Linked DNA regions of Homo sapiens: all the other regions are linked to region 3. The links are contacts of gene promoters, found by promoter capture Hi-C in human tissues and cell types (Jung and others, 2019). All regions are on one chromosome and are shown on one strand. The core of a region is centred on a gene start or on the middle of the fragment in contact, and the rest is flanking DNA. Distances in the headings are between cores, read along the strand shown. Region 1 overlaps USP43 (ubiquitin specific peptidase 43). Region 2 has its middle 38 kb from the start of DHRS7C. Region 3 holds the start of DHRS7C (dehydrogenase/reductase 7C).

Evidence for each region. Contacts are between HindIII fragments. The study calls those that stand out against the background at their distance.
Region 1: a fragment that was not itself captured here is called in contact with the fragment with the promoter of DHRS7C in region 3 in 1 of the 25 tissues and cell types used here (mesendoderm cells).
Region 2: a contact is called between a fragment that was not itself captured here and the fragment with the promoter of DHRS7C in region 3, in 3 of the 25 tissues and cell types used here (liver, pancreas and spleen).

What each region holds. Positions count from the first base shown.
Region 1 is chr17:9,727,001-9,729,700 of GRCh38, reverse strand. USP43 (ubiquitin specific peptidase 43) reads right to left here. Exons shown (of 15, transcript NM_153210.5): 15 at 14-1,747. The coding sequence ends at 711. Among named protein-coding and RNA genes, the nearest start is that of DHRS7C, 63 kb to the left of the region's middle. RefSeq lists enhancers at 1,075-1,575, 1,576-2,076. The HindIII fragment of the contact is 3,953 bases long and covers 1-2,700 here.
Region 2 is chr17:9,752,337-9,755,157 of GRCh38, reverse strand. No RefSeq gene overlaps it. Among named protein-coding and RNA genes, the nearest start is that of DHRS7C, 38 kb to the left of the region's middle. The HindIII fragment of the contact is 7,521 bases long and covers 1-2,821 here.
Region 3 is chr17:9,790,162-9,792,890 of GRCh38, reverse strand. DHRS7C (dehydrogenase/reductase 7C) reads left to right here and starts at 1,299. Exons shown (of 6, transcript NM_001105571.3): 1 at 1,299-1,760. The coding sequence starts at 1,607. The HindIII fragment of the contact is 22,922 bases long and covers 1-2,729 here.

The DNA of each region.
Region 1 (2,700 bases), core at 157-2,656, 63 kb after region 3:
ACAGCCATGCGTGTTTCATGGACAGGATTTTATTAAAATTGTACATAGATCTCATATTTAAATTAAAAAATGGACTTTTTTTCTAGTATCAAAATAGTTATTTTTAAAATACCTTGAAAAACTTTAATACAATTTTTAATATATTAAATATTCACCTGAACTCTCAGCCATTTATCTCCCATCTCTCTTTGCTAGAATCTTGCCTTACCATCACTATCATTCTTTTGTTTTTTTTTTCTTTTTGGCATCTTTAATGCTTATCCCAGAAAAGCATTAAAAATAAAATATTTTTCTTTAAGTCCACAATTTAAAAAAAAAAAAGAAAGAAAAAGGAAAAGCCATTGACAGTATTTGACATGACATTGAAGATTCTTATTAAACCAGCCTCATCTTGTTTGCCCACATCCAAAACTCTTTAGTAAATATCAGTTCTTGCCCTGAAACTGGTAATACTGACCCAATAGCATCCTCTAGTGGCCAAACTGTAGCAAAGCACCCAATGATGCAGGAAGGTTTTCGACCTTGGGTTATATGGACCTTGGGTGTTGGAAGTCTAGATATGGAGACCCCCCACCACAAAAAAAAAAAAATTTTTTTTTAGAGATTACAAGACAACGGGTTTCCTGGAAACCCATTCTCAACATGAGCTGCCTACAGTTGCTTGGCAAAGTCCCAAGAATGCCAGCGTCACACAATACTGACACGCTCCATCAAAAGCTGGACTCCGGTAAGGTTTTCTTTCGACCTAAAGAAAGAGTGTGATATTTGACTCTCTGAAAGGTGCCATAAGAAGCCTGCTCCCCTGGAACAGTCCTTTGTGACATGCCCAGTGCACTGCCTCTCGGGGCCCTGCTGGCTTTACGAGGGAGGCGGAGAGAGCTGGGGGCTGACCAGACATCCCTCTCGAGCCGGCTGCCCAGGCCCCTGGCCAGGCCCTCTGGGATCCTGAGGGCAGGAGGTGAGCCTGGAGCCTGCCCGTCCATGGCAGGGCTCAGCCCGCCACTCACCAGGGAGACGGGGGGCACCTGTGGAGAGACCTCTGCCCTCTCATTCCTCCTGTTCTCCTTCTTCCGAAACACGGACCTCAGAAGGGTGAGTGTCCCCTGCAGGGGTCTGTCTAGCTCAGAGGTGCCTCGGCGACTGTCTTTGCTGTTTCCAGAGAATCCCATATAGGGGGAGGGTGGGCTGCTTTTGCTTCCCATCTGGAAGCTCTCCTTCCAGTTCATGGCCTTCTGGCCCTCCGGTCGAGCTGGTTTCTCATGCTCCACTGAAGGCATCACAGTGAGAGGCAGGTCAAACTTTCTGGGAAGCTTGATGTCCTGCCCTGCATTTTCCTTGAGTTTCCTTGCTGTGTTTGGACCATCTGAGTTTCCAGGGGCCAGACAGTGGTTGGGTTGAGCCGAGGGACAGGGCACCCCGGCTGGACCTCTTTCAATGGCCCGCCCACCATCTTCGCTGTTAGCAGGAAGGGCGACGTTGGACCTCGGCGATGCTGACTTCTCATCCTCACCCGCAGTGCCCGTCAACAGCGACACAATGGACTGGCTCGTGGACCGAGGTCTTCGTCTGGATTCCAAGTACTCCACCAACTCGACGGAGGCACCTGGTGGTTTCTCCTTGGATCCAAAGGACCACCGCAGAGGCATGGTCTTGAATGGTCCCTGCTTGGCTCGGGAAGTGGTGGGTGCCTTCATGCTAATGCTTCTGCCTTTCACGCCCCGTACCAAACGCCTGGGCTCCAACCCTCCTGAAAGAGACAGAGAGACTGTCAGTGTACAAGCCACCCTACAGCTGAAATGCCAGTCATCTAACGTTCACTGAGCACCTCTGATGTGGGAGGCACTGTGCTGGGCACTGGAGACACAGCAGTGAAGAAGCCACATAGGGTTCCTGCCTTTGGGGAACAGCAACGGTTTCACCCACTCTTCCTCAATATCCACTTACACGTTTGAAGCCACAGGGTAAGCCAGTGCCAAAGAAGGTATCTACATGCCGGGCAGCACAGACACCTGGCAAAGCTCAGTCTCACGGGCATCTAGCCTTAAGAATGAACATCAGTTTCATCTATCTTTAAATATTCCTATGAAACGGAATGCCCAGCAAAAGTTCCTGCTTTTCTAGGTCATATTAGGTCCTTGTACCTTTCAAATGCAAGAATCTCAGATATCCTACCCTGGGCTAAAAAAGAAAAAAAAAATGGAATTAAAAAAATATGGTGAAAACCACAATTACTTTTGCACCAACCTATACAACTTGTAAAAATATATACACGTGCATGTATTATGCATGCATGTGAAAACATACAAATAAGAATAGAGAAATAGATGCCAAAAACAAGGTGTGGATAGGGCCATGGCAGTGCTGTTTGTGATGGATTTTTTTTCTTAATTCTTTCCTATATCTCCACATTTCTAAAAGGAACATATGTACAACCAAGGTTGTGTATTTTTGCTTAAGAAATTCTCAGTCTTGGGAGGCTGAGGCAGGTGGGTCACAAGGTCAGGAGTTCGAGACCAGCCTGACCAACATGGTGAAACCCCATCTCTACTAAAATACAAAAATTAGCTGGGCGTGGTGGCACATGCCTATAATCCCAGCTACTCAGGAGGCTGAGGCAGGAGAATCACTTGAACCCGGGAGGTGGAGGTGGAGGTTGCAGTGAGCTGAGATCATGCCACTGCACTCCAGCCTGGGTGACAG
Region 2 (2,821 bases), core at 257-2,756, 38 kb after region 3:
GAGAGAGGCCTCCAGAGAAGCTGAACCTGCTGACACCTTGATCTTGGACTTCCAGCCTCCAGAACTGTGAGAAAAATTCATTTCTGTTGCTTAAGCCACCCCAGTCTGTGGCATTTTGCTATGGCAGCCCTAGCACACTAATGCAGAGGGTAGAACTGACCTGGGCTTGGAGCATCCTGAGAAGAGACCATCCAGCTAAAACTACTCGGATGAAGGTGTTGGTTAAGAAGTCCAGTAGCTATTCAACCCTTGCTTTATTTGGTGTTCTTTATGAAAGGTTTAATTTTTTAAAGTGGATGACTAAGCCTTTCTCAGCATTGTAAATTAGTTACTTAAGCAAGTTTCATGTGATTTAAGAATTATTTATCTGCCATCCATACATCTCCTGTTTATAATGATCTCCAAATATTTAATTCTTTTAATTCATTTATCTTTATTAAGGTGTGTGTGTGTGTGTGTGTGTGTGTGTGTGTGTGTGTGTGTTTAAGAATCAGAATTCTGACTCAAAGGACTGTGGAGCTTGTACATAAGCATCCACCATAGTTTTGTTGTCATAAAATGTCAGGTAAGGCAAGAACCTTGTGAGGAAATAAAAAGATTCTTTAGAACTGGTCTGATGCTTAAGAATGTAAAATTTATAACCCAACAATACATTCTCACATCTTGATGCTAACAGTAACTCTGCAATTGTGTTGCTCTCACCCTAAAGAATTTTCGACAGCATTTGTGTTAACAAAACAAAACATTCTTCCATCTCTATCCTTTCCCACTCCTTAATGGATGGATGGATGGATGGATGGATGGATGGATGGATGGATAGGCAGATAGACAGATATATAGGTGGATGGATAGATAAATAGATAGATGATAGATAGATAGATAGATAGATAGATAGATAGATGTTAGATAGACGATAGGTAGAACCCAGGTCCTCTCTTGTCCTCCCATCCATATCTTTGGGTAAAAGCACCTGTTTGTTGCCGAATGAGTCCTGGATGCCAAAATGGGTGTTGTTCAGAATGTTTCCACTTACCTTTCCCTTGGGCCCAGGAAGAATCTTCAGTCTAAAGAATGAAAAGAAAAGACCCATAAGAACAGGTCTTCCAAGGAAACGAGGCAGCTCTGGGAACACCTTTTCTCTCAGGATCCTAAGGCAAGACCTATTCAGCCCTCAGCAAGCCTGTCTACCTCTAGCTCTCCGTCTGCAAAAATGCCCCCTGCCCCTGAGCTATGAGAGAAAGGACTCCTTCAAGATGTTGTTGAGAGGAGAGGGCAGGGATATGGAACTGGGATGGATTCCACATGCAGATGTGCTGGGAAAGACAGCAGATCCAGTTGCTTCAGGAAGAAAATCAAGACTTTGTCCAGGTGCCCCTTGGCCAAGACAGAAACTCCCCTCAATCAGGGGACCCACTTACCTCCAAGGAATGGTGAGGCCATTCCTGTCCCCTGAGTCAAACCTGTATTGCCTCTCCACTGGACAATCCAAAAACAAGAAACAAACAGACAAATTCATCCCTGTGCGCTCTCTGAAAGAAGAAATATGAGCCCAGAGGAGGGTAAAAATAAATACCCACTTGAGGAAAATATTCCCCCAATTCGAGCATTCAGAAGCATGCCCCAAACACTGGGACGCCTAAGGTAAACTTACTTAAAACAGAATGTTAGTGACTTTTTAAAATAAAATGTGCAATACGCTTTTCTTCAAACTTCAAGTATCTTTCTAGCTAAATGAGGTAACTCTATGTTTAAAGTCAGGAGGGGCATCTGTTAAGACACTACTGAGTGTTACCGAAGGAAAAGTTCTGTATTTTATTATACTCGTGTGTATATTTATTATCTATTTTTTAAATTTTTTTTATTATACTTTAAGTTCTAGGGTACATGTTCACAATGTGCAGGTTTGTTACATATGCATACATGTGCCATGTTGGTGTGCTGCACCCATCAACTTGACATTTTAAATAATACTTGATTATATATTTATTACTTTTTTTTTTTGAGACAGAGTGTGGCTGTGTCACCCAGGCTGGAGTGCAGCTGCACGATCTTGGCTCACTGCAACCTCTGCCTCCAAGGTTCAAGCAATTCTCCTGCGTCAGCCTCCCGAGTAACAGGGGCTACAGGTGCCCACCACCAAGCCCAGCTAATTTTTTGGTATTTTTAGTAGAGATGTGGTTTCACCGTGTTAGCCAGGATGGTCTCGATCTCCTGACCTCGTGATCCACCCGCCTCAGCCTCCCTAAGTGCTAGGATTACAGGCGTGAGCCACCGTGCCCGGCCATATAGTTATTACTTTTATGAAAAGTCCTGTATTTATTGTACTGTTCCCATATTAATATTTGGACCCTTTGATGGTCTAATGAGATCGTCATGACCTTCACCTTTATCCGAACCCTTATCCTGCTTAATTATTCACCTCCTGACATAATCAAATGTGAAGAGGTTTGGCAAGGCATGCGACAATATATAAGCAAGATTCATAATTCCATTAATGGTTCTTACTACCGTAGCAGTGATGCCAGCTACACACACCTGTTCAGGAGCACTGATGGGGATGATGCACCTGCAAGAATTTGCATAGAGATGAGGCCCTTCCATGCACGAGGAAGTATATGGGGGCAGCCACCAACAAGGGCAGTCTTGCTCATGGGCACCTGTGAGGCCTCTCCCTAGAGACCACCAGAAATACTTTAGAAGCACACTGTAGAAATTTTCAGCATTGTGAGAGCCGCTGGAATTTGCGTGATTTTCATTGATGTTGCATTTCTGCCCACAGGTCAGTAAGGCCTTGAGAAGGTTGAGTTATGCTATCAATTCA
Region 3 (2,729 bases), core at 50-2,549:
ACTCGGCGCGGCTGAGGCAGGGGAATTGCTTGAACCCAGGAGGTGGAGGTTGCGGTGAGCCGAGATCGTGCCACTGCACCTCAGCCTAGTGACAGAGCAAGACTGTCTCAAAAAAAAAAAAAAAAAGAAAAACTTTACACAAGAGGTTGTTTGAGCAAAGAAAATACACATACAGGTAAAACTGTATATACGCTTTTAAAAGTTAGGAAGTAGCTACCCTCAGGGCTGGAGAGAGACATGATGAGGCATGTTGGCAATGTTCTGTTTCTTGATCTGCATGCTGGTCACGTGAATATATTCAGTCTATGAAGATTCATCAAGCTCTACATTTACGTGTGTGTTTCTAATATGTACATTAAGTGTCAATAAAATTCTGGGACTTTTTTAATCTTCCTGGTTATTTCTAATTTCCAAGAAAGAAATACAGTCTTCTTTACCCCCCCCACATACGCACACACACACACACACACACGTGCACACACACAGGTGCGCACACACACACGCACGCACACACGCACACACACATGCACACACACACATGCGCGCACACACACACATGCACACACACTGCTCTTAGTCCTACTCCTGATTGGCTCAATGCTGTTTACCGCACAAATTAGGACCTGATTGTGATTGGCCTTCTGGTTTGGGATGGCTCCAGTACTTGAACTGGGTTTCTGTCTCTCCAGTTCTAATCCTACTGAGTTTCCTTATGTAATGAAAATATTTCACATTTGGGATAAATTCTTAGTATCCTCAACCGCTAAAGATAACAGTAGTTACCTTCCTACGGCCCGGGATCTATGCTAGGCCCACACTGTGCAGTATGGTTTGTCCTCCCATTGGTCCTGCCCATTTTACAGACAGGGAAGCTAAGGCTCAGAGAGGTGAGAAACACTCTCAAGAGTGTGCTCTTTCTGATATTTCCTGTCACACCTCCCAGTGGCTCTTTCTGCAAAAGGCTTCATTCTGTTTAGCAGTTTTCTATGCTTTTCATCTCCAATTAGAAAGCAAAGGCCAGATGGTCTTCTGCCACATGCATCCAAACTACCTGGAAGCTACCTGATTACGAGGGTTACCGGAAGTGAGGGCAAGGATGTTTGTGCTGAAAATCCCAGGTTTGGATCCCTCGTGCTCAGTCCCAAACTGCAGAGGAAACCTCTAATACTCAGGCAAGCCAGGAGAGCTTTGGCAAGAGCCCTGAAATCAGACCCGGCCAGCATGTGTTCCTGAATATCAGAATAGACACTATATTTACCCTGACAGCCTTTTAGTGCAACTGAAAGCTATAAATAACCATTAGGGCCCAAGCAAGTGGCCTTAACACATGGATTTTCTTCCAAAAATGCAGACCCATTTTAATTAAGTTTGTAATTAACCACTGGGGAGGGCAGGCCCCCTGGATTCGGTCTGCTTTCGGAGACACTGTGAGTAACTTCCTATTTGTTGAACATTTGGGGATTAGCACGCCCACTGGGTGTTCAGCTTGGAGGCTTGCACAGAGCTGAGCTCCCTGCAGCCTTGGGCCTCCCCCTGCCCTGGGAGTCCTGATCAGCGTCTCTTTGCAAAGCCAATCCCCTTTTACTCCGTTGTCCCCCAGAACAAGATGGGAGTCATGGCCATGCTGATGCTCCCCCTGCTGCTGCTGGGAATCAGCGGCCTCCTCTTCATTTACCAAGAGGTGTCCAGGCTGTGGTCAAAGTCAGCTGTGCAGAACAAAGTGGTGGTGATCACCGATGCCATCTCAGGACTGGGCAAGGGTAAGCTGGCTTTGCTCCCACCTGTGCCCATTTCTGCCCCCAGGGACTGGCAGGATGGCAGGGTGGCAGGGCGGCAGGGCGCTGTGTGGGCAAACCTGCTCGGTGGGAGGGGATCGATCCTGTGTTCTCTCCCAGCTTCTATCATTAACCAGCAAGTTTCCCATCTTTTGGAGGCTGCAGATTCCTGATAAATGAGGGTGGTGGAATATCTAGGGTTGCAAACTCACAGCCTAAGGGCTAAAACTGGTCTGCAGATGTGATTTGTTTTGGCTTCATGGGGTTTCCAGAAATTTTGAAAATTCAAAGCCTTTAGCTGGGGCAATGTACTGGTTGTGAGCCCAGACTCAGGAGCTGGGTTCAGTTCCTGGCTCCAGCAATGACTAGCTGGTTACTTCACTTCTCTGCCTTAAACTTCTCATCTGTAAGGCGAGGATAACAGCAGTCTCTACCTCATGCTGCCATTGTGAGGAATAAACGAGTTCATAGATGGATAGCACTTAGAACAGTACCTGGAGCTACAGTGGATATCACTCAAGGGTTAGTAATGATGATCATGAACACATATAGGCAAAACATGCCCACGCTAGTGGGCCACACACCCCACCCATCCCTATTGCATCACACTTGGCCTGATTCTTTCAATCATTACACTTTCTGGCATTGAAGGCATTTGCATTTGCAACTCCTGAATTATATCACCTCAGAGAGGCCCTTCTGCTGGTGACATCTATGACATGAGGGGCCGTAATTGTCCTTAAGTTTGCAAGATTCTGACTCTATCCTTCCAGACAATGGTAGTACAACTTTATATGTTACATAGTTAGTGCAACTTTTGCTGTTGTTTTTATTATTTTTAATAGAGCATAGATCCCACACAGCCAAACATTCATTAGTAACTCAGTAAGTGTCCACTGAGTCCACTATGTCCTGAGCATTGCCCCGAGAGTCCCTCTGGGGGGCTGGGCACTT